Linked DNA regions of Homo sapiens: all the other regions are linked to region 1. Evidence: promoter capture Hi-C in 16 types of primary human blood cells and fetal thymus (Javierre and others, 2016). All regions are on one chromosome and are shown on one strand. Each heading gives the region's core, a stretch centred on a gene start or on the middle of the fragment in contact. The rest is flanking DNA. Distances are from core to core; before and after follow the strand shown. Region 1 holds the start of RAN (RAN, member RAS oncogene family). Region 2 overlaps RBM19 (RNA binding motif protein 19). Region 3 holds the start of FBXO21 (F-box protein 21). Region 4 holds the start of WSB2 (WD repeat and SOCS box containing 2).

Region 1 (3,428 bases), core at 536-3,035:
ATATATTCACCTGCAGGAATAACTATGGTACAGTTAGCAAGGCAAGAAACCACAACTTTTTGGTTAAAGGATTCTTTTGGGGGAAATTCTTGTGTTTATTTGTACATGCTCAAGGAAAGCAAAAGGCATGGAATGATTCCAGATAATGTGTTATCGGCAACGTGAGGTTCCAAGAGAGATGAGTATTTTCTTGATTCCTCTTTTTGGTACAATGAACATTTTCCTTGCAATTTTTAAATCAAACTATTTGAGAAAAATACTCTGCACAACTTAGTACAAACAATTTAACAAGAAATCAGCTAGTCTTGTATAACACTTGTTAAGATCTCCTATCTCCTCTGGTCTAGTATCTGGTGTTTATTGTTTTCTAATACAGTAAAAACATTCATTGATCACCACACCAAAATACATACATGAACCTAAGTTTCCAAATACTGAAACTGCTGTTAACAGCCTATTATTGTTTTAAATATGACTTATAAGTCCCAGTGTAAGTCATAGTTTTTTCTAAAGCATGCCTAGCATGACACAGCATGCAAATGACACAACTTTAATAAAATTTTCTCTGCCACCAAAATGGTGGTCAACTCCCCGAAGTCCACTTGTCTTTTTTTAACCCAAAAATGACACTATTTGTTGGAACAGACCTGATTTTCTATAACCTTGAAGACTGAAGTACACAAAACCTCTCAAAAACCGTTCAGCAAGTTACAAATGCCTACCTTGGATATAATAGCCATCTCTCAGTCCACCGAATTTCTCCTGGCCGGCTGTGTCCCATACATTGAACTTAATAGGTCCTCTGTTGGTGTGGAACACTAGGGGATGAACCTCAACACCCAAGGTGGCTGAAACGGAAACGATGCGATTGAGTGGATGAACTTACCCATTTCTCACATATTTCCACAAGCAAGGTTTTCCAGCACATACCTACATACTTCTTCTCAAATTCACCAGTCAAATGACGTTTCACGAAGGTCGTTTTTCCAGTACCACCATCACCAACCAATACAAGCTGTTGAAAAACACATTTTGGAAGTAAACCCTAAACACTTCACCTCTCAAGATCCCAGAGTCACGGAACTTTAACCACCACAGGCTCACTTAAAACAAAGAATGTGGATGCGGGGCCCCATTACAGCCATCGTGGCCCCAGGAGGAGGGACCCGCGAGTCGCACGCGGTCGGGCTCGGCCGCCTCCCGCCCCGCAGGGTTACCTACTTTGAACTGGACCTGGGGCTCTCCCTGCGCAGCCATCGCGGCGTTCCTGCGGAGGCAGAGGACGGAGGCGAGCGCTCGCGCGGCCCCGCAGCCCATGGCGGCCCCGCTCCCGCGCCCCCAGCGCCCCACGTGCCCGCCCCACAAAGGCCTCCCGCCCGCGGCGCCATGGCGGCCAGGCCTGGGAGCGGGAAGGCGGCGGGCGGGGCCGGCATCCGGGGCGGCGGGGCCCGGGGAACGGCGGCCGGAGGTGTAGGGATGGGAACGGGACTGGGACCGGGACGGGGATGAGAGCGGAGGATGAAACGGGGGTTCGCGGGGGCTAGCGCCGACCCCACGCCCGTCTCCTGCCCCGGCCCGGCCGGGCCCGCACCACCCACCTACTCAGCCGCCCGCTGCCCCTGGGTCCGCCACCCGCCCCGGCCCTGGCCCCGGCTCCGACCCCTATCCCGCCGCCGCCACCCCTGTCCCCGCCCGGCCGTGCCGGGCCCGCCGGGTCGCGATACCTTCCAGAAGCGTCTCCGCGCCCGTCCGACTGAGGCTGGAAAGATGGCGGAAGCGCAATTCAAACGCCGGAGACGCAGCCGACGCCGGCGCGAGAGCAGGGGCGGGGCCGGCGCGGGGCGGGGTTGCAAGGGGCGGGGCAACGGCGCGGCGCCCGCCCACGTGGCCCGCGCGTGCGCGCACGCACGCAACGCGGTTCGGTCGGCCGCTCGGGCGGTCGCTGCGCTTAGGGTGGGGCGGGAGGCGCGGTGGACCGCGTGGGAGGGCGAGCCGGGAGCGCGTACGCAAGCCGGCCGGTGGGGACCGCGTGCGCCGACGCCCCGGGCGGGCTCCCGGGCGCGCATGCGCTGAAAGCGAGGCGGCGCGCCCCTGAGCGGGAGACGTTGGGCGCGGCCCGACGGTCGCGGCTCTCCTGCCTCCCGGGTGGGAGGCGGTACTCGCTCGGGCAGACGTGGTCAGGCACGCGGCTTCCAGGCGCTGGCCAGCCTGTCCTTGTCTGTGCCCCGTGGGGTGGGGGTTCTTGAGGTCCTGGGGCTTAGGGTGGCTCGCGTGCGCGCAGGACGGGTGGGTGACAGAACGAATGAATGAATGAATGGGGTCTAGGCCCGTCCTCCAGAGGCAGCCCGCTGTTCTGTCTCTCCAGATCGTAGCCTTCACGCCCCCAGGACCAGGGCCAGTTGGAGAGCGAGGAACCAGAGAGGGATGCACCCACCCAGAAAAACGGCTACTTATTTTTTTTAAGAGACGGAGTCTCGCTACGTTGCCCAGGCTGGTCTCGAACTCTCAGGCTCGGGCGATCCTCCCGCCTCAGCCTCCCGAGTAGCTGGGACTACAGGCGCGCACCACATCAGGGGTAATTTTTTAAAAATTTTTTTGAGAGACAGAATCTAACTATGTCTCCCAGGCTGGCCTCAGGGGATCCACCCGCCTCGGCCTCCCAAAGCGTCCGGCTTCTCAAAGCGTTTCATAGGTTGGCAGCTTTGGCCGCTGCATGCTACAGACAAAATGATGAAATACTGTTTGCAGTCTGGACGCGTCTACCAGCCCTAGTTACCAACGGGGACGGAATGAGTAAGTGCTCAGCTTCCCAGCCCCCTGTTGGCCTGAAGCTGTAAGAGCCCAAACAAGCTTGAGCTAGAGGGACCCGACTTCCTGGGCGCCCCTGCCGACATGCAGACAGATAAAGGCCCAAATCAGCGCAGTCAAGCGCCTCAGAAGAGTCCACCATGGGGAGAGAGCCGCAGTGACCGAAGAGTCCTCCCTGCAGTCCTGAGCACACTTGCAGGCGAGTCCGCTAGGAACCCCAGTGACGCAAATTAGGCACAAAGCAGGCGACAACCGGCCTGCTGGGAACGCAAGTCCGAGCTCCCCCAGAACCCTCAGGGGAACCCCAAGCACCTCTCAGACGCTGCTGGCGGGAGAGCAGAATCTAACAGTAAAACGGGAATGCCCATTGCTTGTGACCCCGGATTTCCATTTCTAGGGAGAGGCCCCAGAGTTAAACTCATGCCTCACGCATGTGCACAACATTTAATACTGTATAACATTTAAAAGGAATGACGGTCATCTGTTTCAACAGGGTTAGATAGATGTCAAAAGGATAGTGTTGAGAAAAGAAGAAAGAGGTGATAACAGCTTTATAAAGTCTAGGCCACCTGTAATCCCAGCACTTTGGGAGTCCGAGGTAGGAGGATCCCTTAAACCCA
Region 2 (3,428 bases), core at 476-2,975, about 17 Mb after region 1:
CCATAGTTTGCTGATCTTTGCTCCAGATAAATATTCTGTGTAGGCAAATGTGTGTACAATTCTAAGGCTTTGGCACATAATATCAGTTGCCCTCTGGGAGCATTGCTAGTTTATGCTCGCTGTAGCAGAGTCTACAAGTGCCCATTTTCCTGAACCCTGGGTATTATTAATGTTTCATCAATGTGATAGGTAAAATTGGCATCTCATGTTAATTTATATTTTAAATTACTTGTAAGATGGATCATACTCTCTCACATTTGTAGATCGTGTATATCTTGTTGTCATTGTTGTTTTGAGACAGAGTTTCGCTCTTATCTCCCAGGCTGGAGTACAATGGTGCAATCTCAGCTCACTGCAACCTCCGCCTCCCGGGTTCAAGTGATTCTCCTGCCTCAGCCTCTCGGGTAGCTGGGATTACAGGCACCTGTCACCATGTCCAGCTAATTTTTGTATTTTTAGTAGAGACAGCGTTTCACCATGTTGGCCAGGCTGGTCTCGAACTCCTGACCTCGGGTGATCACCCGCCTTGGACTCCCAAAGTGCTGGGATTACAGGCGTGAGCCACCGCACCTGGCCAATATATCTTCTCTTTTGGAAAGTGCCCGATCATGTCTTTTGCCCTTTTTTCTCTTGAAGTCTTTATCTGTTCTGGTACTCTATGTTTATAAATATCTGAATTACAACTTATCAAACTTCAGAGTAGCAAGCATGTAGGTTTTATTAAACTCACTGAGTTGCTTGTAATTTTGTCAGAATTCTTTCAGTATCAACCATTCAGAAAATCACATGCTTTAATTAACAAAACCAAAACCACTAGGTGGCTACTTGCAAAACTAATACACAAAAACCAAATACTCAAGCTTAATGAGAAGTGAAAAAAGCCAGGTTTAATCCCAAGTATATACAATTATCTAGGGGGGAAACAGTGCCTTGAAATGCGGATCGTGACATCGCTATTTTAACGCTGATAGTGACACTGCTATTTTATATTTATATTACTCATTTCTCCTCCAATTTTCTTTTTCACATTTTCTCCAAGGTAATTGGAGAAGCGATACGTATAAGGAAAGAGAAAAACTAAAGAATGAAACACTTTGTAATCCTTTCTGATTTAGAAATTTGCCCCATGTCTTTTCGTTGGGTTGTACTTTTATTATGTGGTTGGTAAGGGGAAAAAAACTTCTTCTCACAGAAAAATGTTATGGAATTCCTGGCACCCCTGAAACCAGTGGCCATTCGAATTGTGAGAAACGCTCATGGGAATAAAACAGGTAAGATCCAGGATGTTTCCAGGTGGGAAGGCGGGTAGACAGTGAAGATTGAAGGTTGGGGTACTTGAATAAGGAAGAAGTTTTAAGGGCACCCGTTTTTCTTCCTGTTTGTGGTCCTCAGTTGTGTGGATGTGGTCAGCCTGGGCAGGTTAAGGCTGCATCTCTTGCCCCAGCCTTTGGTGGCCTAGTGTATAGGGATGGAGTTCTCACCTGTGCTTTTCATCCTTCCCTTCCTCATCTTAGCCTTTGCCTATCTCAGTGGGCTCACCTATTACGCTGAAACAAATGCCAACAGGTCCTGGGGTTTGCTAGGCCAAGTCCACAGGCAGCTCTGCTGGTGGGCAGGGCTCTGAGTTGCTGAGCATGTGTGGTGTTGCCCCGTGCCACCCTCCCTGCAGGTTTATACTCTGGGCAACCAACCAGGCACCTCCCTTGGCTTCAGAGCCCTGGGTTCTGGTCATCCTGAGATGAGCAGTGTGGCTGGAAGGCAGAGTGTCTGAGCTCGGGGAGGTGGGCACCTGTCCGTGCCTACTTCTTGCTGGCCAGGACACTGGGAGATTCAGCAGCTGACTTGCTACTTCTCAAGAGAACCACACTGAGGCCCTGTAGCTGCGGGGAGGCTGGAGGCTGGAAGCCGCTGGATGTGTACTCTGTCTTTGGCAAGAAGACACTGGCCTGGGTAGAGCAGTTGAGATCTACCTAGGCTGACATCTGGGGAAGAAAGTGTGCTTGAGGGATGGTCTCCTCACTGTCATGTTTCTGCATTTCTTCCCCAACTCTCCTCTTATCACGGAAGTCCCACTTACCCAGCTGATCCATTCAGCCACCCATCCTTCTCCTTGCAGACTGATTACAGGGCAGGATGAGGTCAGGGTAAAGGGCTCTGCCTAAGTGCAGATCTCAGGTAGGAGCCCTATGACCTTGGACAAGGGACTTAGCCTCAGTTTGTTTGTGTGTGTGAGTGTGTGTGTGTTTGTGTGTGTGTGTGCAGTCAGGTAAACCTGTCTCACCAAGTTGCATGAATGGCTCTGTGTACAGCATTTAGAGCAGTGCTGAGCCCCTGTTGCACACTCCATGAAAGCTGCTGTTAATATTCATGATGGTGGTGGTGATGGTGCTGGTACCCTTGGTTTTATGGCACTTCACAGACCAGGGAGGGAGCAGGAAGAAACATATCTGAGTTGTCAGACCCAAGAGAAAACCATATTGGAGGCCCCAGAGTTGGAGAGAGCCGGCATCCAAGCATGAAATGTTGAAAAGCAGCTGAATGTCCCCTGCAGGAGAGCTGGGGAGGAGGCAGGCTGGGCCCCTTAAGCTTTAGGGGCCTCATTAAAGATTGTGTGTCTCAGCTACTCAGGAGGCTGAAGTAGGAGGATTACTTGAGCCTAGGAGTTCAAATCCAGCCTGGACAACATAGCAAGACCCAATCTCAAAAAGAAAAAGATTGTGGGCTTCAGTCTGGATGCAGGGGCCCCTGGGAGCTTAGAGCAGGGGAGGGCAGTGATCACATTTAGGATGGTCCCTGGCAGGTGAAGAATGGGTCCTGGAGCCAGGCGTTTGCCATCGTCTAAGGGAGGATCAGTGGTGATGGGGCCTAGGGTGTGGCCATGGAGAGGGGGAGGGAAAAGGACGGAAGATGTTTATGGGGATGGATGAGGTGCCTGGATATAGGAAAGGAGGGCATGGAGGAGTCACAGAAAGAATCTAAACAGCCTTGTGATTAAAGGCAGAAAACCCAAGGGCTTTGGACCAAGTATTAGACATTGCCAGCTATTAGCCGAGTGCCCCTCGGAGTATTTCTTTAATGCTCCAGAAAAGCAGGGGAATGGTCCTCACCCCTCACCTTGTTGCCTCACAGGTTTGAGGCCCAAAGAGGTCAGGAAGCAGAGCCTCTCATGCTAGAGGAAAGACTCCCCCATTTGCTTGTTTTTTTGTGCAAGTCAAGGCCTCAGGTGCCCAGGAGCAGAGTGGGTGTGGAGAAGGTGCTTCCAGCGCCTAGGTGGGTCCTCATGCTGTAGCCACAGGCCCTTCTCCAGAGAATGGCTTAGAGCAGGTGCCAGTCGGGGGATGGGGGTGAGGCTTGGAGGGAGACAGAAAGGCCTCCTGGGCTTCCAACTCCTGGCATTCAGCATCTTCATCCATGACACCGGGCTGGGG
Region 3 (3,428 bases), core at 658-3,157, about 14 Mb after region 1:
TCTAGAGGTGACTCAGACACAGTCCTAGCACTGAACTCCCTTCAGATTTAGTGGGAAAGATGCATGTTGAATAGTTGTAAGTTAAGTAATTACAAGACTGCAAAATGCTGGGCAGGAGCCATATCTGGTGCTGGTGCTGGGGCGGGGGAAGGGAGAGCATTTGGAAAGGTTAAGCTGAGCCCTGGAGGAAGAGGAGGAGCTACTGGAAGGGGAGGACTGCATGAAGTGCCTTGCAGGCAGCAGGAATAGTATATGTAGGGCCAGAAATGGGAGGAAAGAGATGACCAGCCTTGCTGGGGTATGCATGGCTAGTGAGAGAGAAAGACTTCAGATAGGTAAGAAGAGGTGGAGTTTGTTGCTTTGCAACAATGTTTGGGATGTCACATTCATTTCTACGGGAAATAGGGAGCCACAGATGGCTCAACGCCATCCATTGAGAGTCACTTTACTAGTTCAGCTCTCTCAGGGCATCTTGATTTCCAAGTTGCCAGGAGTACTTCATTGGACCCTCCATGTACTGACAACAGATCCTTCTAACTGTAATTGCACTTTGAGGTTTTGAAGCAAAGACTCCATTTTTCTCACCCCTGTATCCCCAGGGCACACAACACAGGGCTTTGGCACTGAACTAAACTGATTTTTTTTTTTTAATGTGCAGATCCTGAGACTACCCTCCCAATCCTGAGTGATAACTCCCGCTTTGAAGACTCAAATCCAGGCTTTAGCACTTTTGTCTCTGTAACTTTGAACCAGTGACTGCCACCTGGAAGAACTTTGCCTTTTCTGTAGAATAGGTATAACTGTGGTACCTATTGTGGGAGGTCAGACTATGCTCCCCAAATATGAAGGATTGTTGAGCTGGAAACAATTAAGAAACCAGTACAGGAGAGCTCTCTGCCTGCCCTCTATTAGCCTAAAATCAGGGCACACATTTGAGGATTATTATTACTCCCCTACACCATCATAGAGGGCTTCCCATAGCACCCACTCAAGAATATTGTTATTATTACATCATATGGTTAAGATTACTGACAAGCAAAAGTCAAGTGGATCTGAAATAGAATCCAAGACAAGGGGCTGGGCGCGGTGGCTCACGCCTGTAATCCCAGCACTTTGGGAGGCCGAGGTGGGTGGATCATTTGAGGTCAGGAGTTCGAGACCAGCCTGACCAACATGGTGAAACCCTGTCTCTACTAAAAATACAAAAATTAGCTGGCTGTGGTGGCGGGCGCCTGTAATCCCAGCTACTCGGGAGGCTGACGCAGGATAATTGCTTGAACCAGGGAGGTGGAAGTTGCAGTGAGCCGAGATCACGGCCACTGCACTCCAACCTGGGTGGTGGCGCGCGCCTGTAATCCCATCCGCACGGGAGGCTGAGGCAGGAGAATCGCTTGAACCCAGGAGGCAGAGGTTGCAGTGAGCCGAGATAGCGCCACTGCCCTCCAGCCTGGGTGAGAGCAAGACTCCTTCCCAAAGGGGGAAAAAAAATCCAAGACAAGGGATCCTGAGCAAGCCCTCTCACTCTCCGAACCTGTTTCCCCATCTGTAATATGGGGAGAAAGTTCGCAGGGTAATTCGGAAAGGTCCAATGCGCACAGAAAGCGCTCAGCACGCGTGAGAATAGATACCATTTTTATTTGTTAATTTTAAACATTAATTACGTTTAAAAGAATCAGTGCTACTATTGTTGTCCCGGACTAGAGGCGGCTTGCGCTGCCGGCTCCAAGCACAGAGCCCAATTATGTCCTCCCTTTTGCGGCGCTGCCACCCGCGCAGCCCCCAGCCGATGCAGGGGAGGTGTGGCCCGCGGATGGGCGGAGCGATCTCAGGACTCGCCCCCAAGACCAGTAGGCGGGGCCAGGCGGGGCGCCCGGGCACTCTCGCACGCGCGCGCGCGGCGGCCCCAGGTACGCGGACAAGATGGCGGCGGCAGCAGTCGACAGCGCGATGGAGGTGGTGCCGGCGCTGGCGGAGGAGGCCGCGCCGGAGGTAGCGGGCCTCAGCTGCCTCGTCAACCTGCCGGGTGAGGTGCTGGAGTACATCCTGTGCTGCGGCTCGCTGACGGCCGCCGACATCGGCCGTGTCTCCAGCACCTGCCGGCGGCTGCGCGAGCTGTGCCAGAGCAGCGGGAAGGTGTGGAAGGAGCAGTTCCGGGTGAGGTGAGCCAGCGGCCCCGCGCCCCGGCTGCGCGCCCACCGCCCCGCGCCCCCCGGGGCCGGGCAGCCGCCCCGCTAGCTCCCCGCGGCCGCCCCGCGCGCGGACCCCACCCCGGACCCCTTCCCGCGGACAGACAGACAAAGGCCTCCAGGCCCCGGACCCTGCGGGGCCACGCCAGGCGGACCCCCGGGTCCCCAAATGGCGCATCTAGGAGCGCCTCGCAGCCGGGTCCTCCGTCAAGGGTGACGCTGGCGGCGGCGCGGCTCGTCCCTTTTGCGCGCTTCTTTTGTGCCCGACTTCGGGCTGAAATGTTTACATGGACCCAGTGATGCATCGATCGGGCGGGCGCAGCATCCCCGGGCTGGTTGTGGACGGCACAGATTTCAGCGTGGCCCCAGGATGAAATCTGGCCCTGCACACTCCCTCTGTGACCTTGGGGGGAGCGACTTCCCTTTTTTTGAGCCTCGTTCATAGACTTTGAGTGGTGGTGATCATTAGACCTACCTTTCACCGTGTTTATTAAATTAGATGATGTCCGGGAGGCACGCACGCAGGGCCCCGGCTCCTAGGAGGCGCTCAATCAGTGCTCACTGTCATTGTCATTATTATTATTGTTGTTGTTGTTACAACTGTCCCCATTTTAGAGATGGGGAATGGAGACATCATTCATGCCGCTACGCCAAGGTCACACCGGGAGTGAGTGAGTGAATGCTGGTGGGGTTTTGAACTAGGTCTCTCGCCGGGGTCCCTCTTACCACTGGACGCCACTGCTGTCCCTGTTTCCAAGGCTGCCTTGGATTCGTGGCCGCCTGCCTTTGAGTTTCTGTTAAGCTGAGGGGGTGTTTCTCTCCTCGTAGGTGGCCTTCCCTTATGAAACACTACAGCCCCACCGACTACGTCAATTGGTTGGAAGAGTATAAAGTTCGGCAAAAAGCTGGGTTAGAAGCGCGGAAGATTGTAGCCTCGTTCTCAAAGAGGTTCTTTTCAGAGCACGTAAGGATCTGTTGATGTGGCTCTAAGCTTTGGCTTGCTGGTGTATGTGTCTGGGTCTGCAGGCATGAGCTCATCCAGCTCTTTTCGTATCTCCCTTTTCAATGCTCTCACAATCCCTTACTCACTTAGATGGCTGCAAGAGTCATTGTGTCCTTTTCCTCCTATCCAACAACACGAAGCCATTTGTCTGTGCCAGCTTTACTTTTCTAAAGCCAGAGAGAGAGTGGGGGTGGAGGGAGCAGGGAGGGACCCACGCAGCACAATGTAGACGGAGTCCA
Region 4 (3,428 bases), core at 490-2,989, about 13 Mb after region 1:
CAAAAAAAGGGGTGCGCTGGGCCGTTTTTAAAATTGGGAAACATAAAAAATACCCAGTGGAAAATGAAGAGAGAGAACGGGGCATGCTAAAGTTAACATGGGCGGCGAGAAAGGGACAGGTAGCCAGCGGAAAAGGGGGAGACTGAGAAACCGGCAGGTTCAAAGAAAAGAAAAAAAAAAACCGGCCAAGCGGGGTGAACAGGAGTGTAACCCAGGAGGCCAAACGGGACACAGGAAGGACGTACCCAGGGCTCATAAAACAGGGGCCTGGGTAAAAAAACCCGAAACATTAAAACGGAGAGACCATGGTGAAAAAGAACACGGGAACCTCAGTTACCGTAGAAAACATAGGTTGCGTTAGGAAGCAAAGAAATTTAAAATGGAACCACTGCGATCCGGAGCTCTGGGACCAGTGACCGGCAAATGGAGAGGGCACTTGGAGGGAAGCGAAGAAAGGCGGGGAGAAAGGAATGAGAGGCGGGAGAGTGACTTGAATGAAGCTGACACCAAGAACCGCGGGAAGAGCTTGGGCCCAAAGCAGGAAAGGGAAGCGCTCGAGTTGGGGGTAAGGGGAGGCATTTTGGGGACAATGAGCTGAGCTCAGTAAGAAATCCCCAAGCCACTGATACTACTGGGGACCGGACAACTAAGAAATGGGGTCTTTCAGGCATGAAAAGCCTCCATGATGACTCCTGCCCTGGCCCTGGAATGTTAAAAAGGGGGCGTCTGACCCAAGCGAGCCATTTCTTGAGGCTATGCGGGTAGACAGGGAGAGCAGGTTTCTCAGGGGGACGGGGACAGGCGAGGCTGTCGCCGTAGGTAGGTAAGGGGACAGTCTTCTTCCGAATCGCTCCTGCCCCGTTTTTTATCTCGTTCCCACCCCCACTCCGGTTTTCACCCTGCCCTCCTCTCCCCACCGCCCCGTGTTCTCCTCACTTCCCTCTCCCATTACCGGAGCCATTGAGTAGCCCCCCTTGTTTTACCCTAGCCTTGACCCTCGCCGCACCCCCCAATTCTTACGTCCTCCCCAGCACCCGGTTATTACACCTTCCTTCCACCCCCTCCCCATTTTCCCCTAAGCCCAGCTCTCCCCAGGTTTCTTCTCGGCCAGTATTCCCTCCAACCTATTTCTCCCGCCCCCATTTTTACCCGTTTCCCCCCTCATCGGCCTTCGCATGGCTCCATTTTCACCTGCCCCTCCCCTCGATTTCGCTTCAGCCCCTTTGGTTCCCCTTACCCCCACAGCCCTCGGTCTCCCTCTCTCCGTTCTCCCCGGATCGCCGCTTCCCCTGCTTGGTTTTTCTCTCAGCCCGGCTCTACCACTCTCCAACACCCCCTTTTCCCCTGAGCCCGGCTTCCCCTACTCCGGTTTCTATCGCTCCCCTTTTCCCGGTTTCCCTCAGCTCTGTTCACCTCCCTCCCTTCCCCGTTTTTATCCGGCGCTGGTTCCCCTCAGGACCCCGCACAACCCCTGGGTTTTATCCCGTTCGCGCCCCACCCCGTTTCCGCTCAGCTCCCCCCACCCCTGCCCCATTTTTATCTGGTTCGCGCGTCTTCCCCGCCCCCGTTTCCCCTGAGCAACCCCTCAGCTTTTATCCCGTCAGCGTACCGCCTCCCCGATTTTCCATCTTTTCCCTCAGCTGCCCCCCACCGTTTTTATCCCGTCCGCACCCCCCCTCCGTTTCCCCTGCGCCCCGCCCCCGCGCGTCTCCGCCCGCGCCCACCGCCATGTGACGGGAAGCAGCTGATGGCCTCTCCGGGCGGCGGCGGCGGCCTGGCCGGGGCGGGCGGCGCGGGGGCGGCATGAGGGCCCGCGGCCCGGGGGGCTGAGGCGCCCGCCGCCTGCCGCGGGGGCCGCTCGCGTCCTCCATGGAGGCCGGAGGTGAGTGGGGCCGGGCGCGCCCGTTCCCGCCCGGCGGGGCCCTGGCCCGTTCTCCCCGGGGAGGGGGGAGGCGACCCCGGGGCGGGCTGGGCGGGGTGGGGCGGGGGCTGGACGCGGCGGGGGCGTCCGGCCTGGGAGGTCCGCGCGGGGCCGGCGGGGGTGCGCGCCCGGCGACCAGCTTTGTTTCACTTTCGTTGTCAGTGGCCGCCACCCTGACTCCCGCCGGCGACAGGATCGGGAAGATCGGGCTTCTGCGGGAGGAGATCCCCCGACCGGGACAGAGGGGGCTCCCGGGTGGGACTCGGGGCGGGGGGCACCAAGCCCTAAAACGGAGATCCCCAAGGGGGTGGGTGCCCCTGGGTACCCAGGTGCCAGGGGACGCACTTGCATGTCTGGATGGGAGTCACCTCTGTCCCTCACAAGCTGTGTGATCGTGACAGTGGACAAGCCACTGAACCACCGCCACCCACGTCTCAGTTTTGATCTGCAAAATGGGATAATCCTAGTACCTTCCTCGGAGGGTGGCTGGGACCCGGTAAAAATGGGGTCTGGGGTCTGGGTTCCCTATTGAAACAATCTATTCCCAGCCTCTCCCACTGGAGATTAAGTCAGTGGAGGTGGGGCGGGACTGGAGACGCTGATCCCTGGTGACATGTATGATCAGGCAAATTTAGGATACACTGATGGGTGGGGACCTTGCCTCTATTCTTGTTAACTGCCATCCCCATCAGAAGACAGCGTGGAAGTCAGAGGATATTGGATATACCTCAAGCCAGCCCAGATGAACATAAAATCTCAGTGGGAAAGGTGTGTCTCTTATGCAAGGGGAAAAAAACCCCAAGACGCATGCACGCCTTGGCCCTCTCCCCTCCAACGACCTTCCCTCGGAACCCCACTTGGGATAGATTTAGAATTGATTCCGGGAGTCCCAGGTCTTGAAGGACCCGAGTTTAAATGTAATTTCCTTAGGAGAAATTTTCAGAGCAGGTTCAAGGCCTAGGGCTCAGAATTTGTTCCAGAACTTCATGGTAATCTTGCAGCCAAGTTCAAGCTTCATCCTGGTCTGGAGGGTTCTGATTGCTGATGGCTTGTTACTGTGGGTGGGAAGGTTGAAATCTGGGTATTCCCTGGGGTGGTGTTACTTTTTAATTTAGGAAATGACATTTCTTTGTTTGCTGAAGTCAGGCATTGAGTTAAAGGCAGCTCTCTCTCCTTCCCATCTAGATAAGGGCTTTCTTTTCAGTGAGTGTTACCCGTAGAATTCTTTTTAAAAGGGCCCCTACTGTTTGTGTAGATCCTATGTGAATCTTTTTATAGCTTCCGTTTGATTTCCATTGCCTCCTTACAGTTCAATCTGAAAGCAATCTGTAGCTAGCCTGCCTTTTTAACAGAAATCTGTTTCCAGTTCTGGGGTTTTCCTAAAGATTGACAACTTCGTTTTGAGGGTGTGGGCAGGGTTGTTGAGAGCTGCCAAGTTACTGTACAAAAAAGGCCAGAGTTTTAACTTATTTTCAAATGGAATAAAGCCCATTGTAAAGGAAATACA

The links. The method cuts DNA at HindIII sites, captures the fragments that hold promoters and counts their contacts. A CHiCAGO score of 5 or more calls a contact.
Region 2: a fragment that was not itself captured here is called in contact with the fragment with the promoter of RAN in region 1 in 1 of 17 cell types (neutrophils); the score reaches 11.4 in neutrophils.
Region 3: a contact is called between the fragment with the promoter of FBXO21 here and the fragment with the promoter of RAN in region 1, in 5 of 17 cell types (naive CD8 T cells, total CD4 T cells, total CD8 T cells and 2 more). The highest score is 15.6, in naive CD8 T cells.
Region 4: the fragment with the promoter of WSB2 here is called in contact with the fragment with the promoter of RAN in region 1 in 3 of 17 cell types (naive CD8 T cells, total CD4 T cells and activated CD4 T cells); the score reaches 5.6 in naive CD8 T cells.

The regions. Positions count from the first base shown.
Region 1 is chr12:130,870,423-130,873,850 of GRCh38, reverse strand. It overlaps RAN (RAN, member RAS oncogene family), which reads right to left and starts at 1,785. Exons shown (of 7, transcript NM_006325.5): 1 at 1,725-1,785; 2 at 1,222-1,267; 3 at 931-1,015; 4 at 723-848. The coding sequence starts at 1,257. RefSeq lists silencers at 1,271-1,480, 1,531-1,670, 1,741-2,200 and enhancers at 1,222-1,983, 2,481-2,560, 1,984-2,745. The HindIII fragment of the contact is 6,850 bases long and covers 1-2,852 here.
Region 2 is chr12:113,950,355-113,953,782 of GRCh38, reverse strand. RBM19 (RNA binding motif protein 19) reads left to right here. Exons shown (of 24, transcript NM_016196.4): 8 at 1,193-1,271. Among named protein-coding and RNA genes, the nearest start is that of RBM19, 14 kb to the left of the region's middle. The HindIII fragment of the contact is 1,726 bases long and covers 863-2,588 here.
Region 3 is chr12:117,188,949-117,192,376 of GRCh38, reverse strand. It overlaps FBXO21 (F-box protein 21), which reads left to right and starts at 1,907. Exons shown (of 12, transcript NM_015002.3): 1 at 1,907-2,159; 2 at 3,015-3,150. The coding sequence starts at 1,921. RefSeq lists silencers at 1,691-1,750, 1,791-1,890, 2,171-2,220 and an enhancer at 2,691-2,780. The HindIII fragment of the contact is 6,345 bases long and covers 1-3,179 here.
Region 4 is chr12:118,059,490-118,062,917 of GRCh38, reverse strand. WSB2 (WD repeat and SOCS box containing 2) reads left to right here and starts at 1,739. Exons shown (of 9, transcript NM_018639.5): 1 at 1,739-1,882. The coding sequence starts at 1,870. LOC124903030 (a long non-coding RNA gene) reads right to left here and starts at 1,458. Exons shown (of 2, transcript XR_007063479.1): 1 at 1,238-1,458. RefSeq lists a silencer at 2,280-2,329. The HindIII fragment of the contact is 4,146 bases long and covers 1-2,935 here.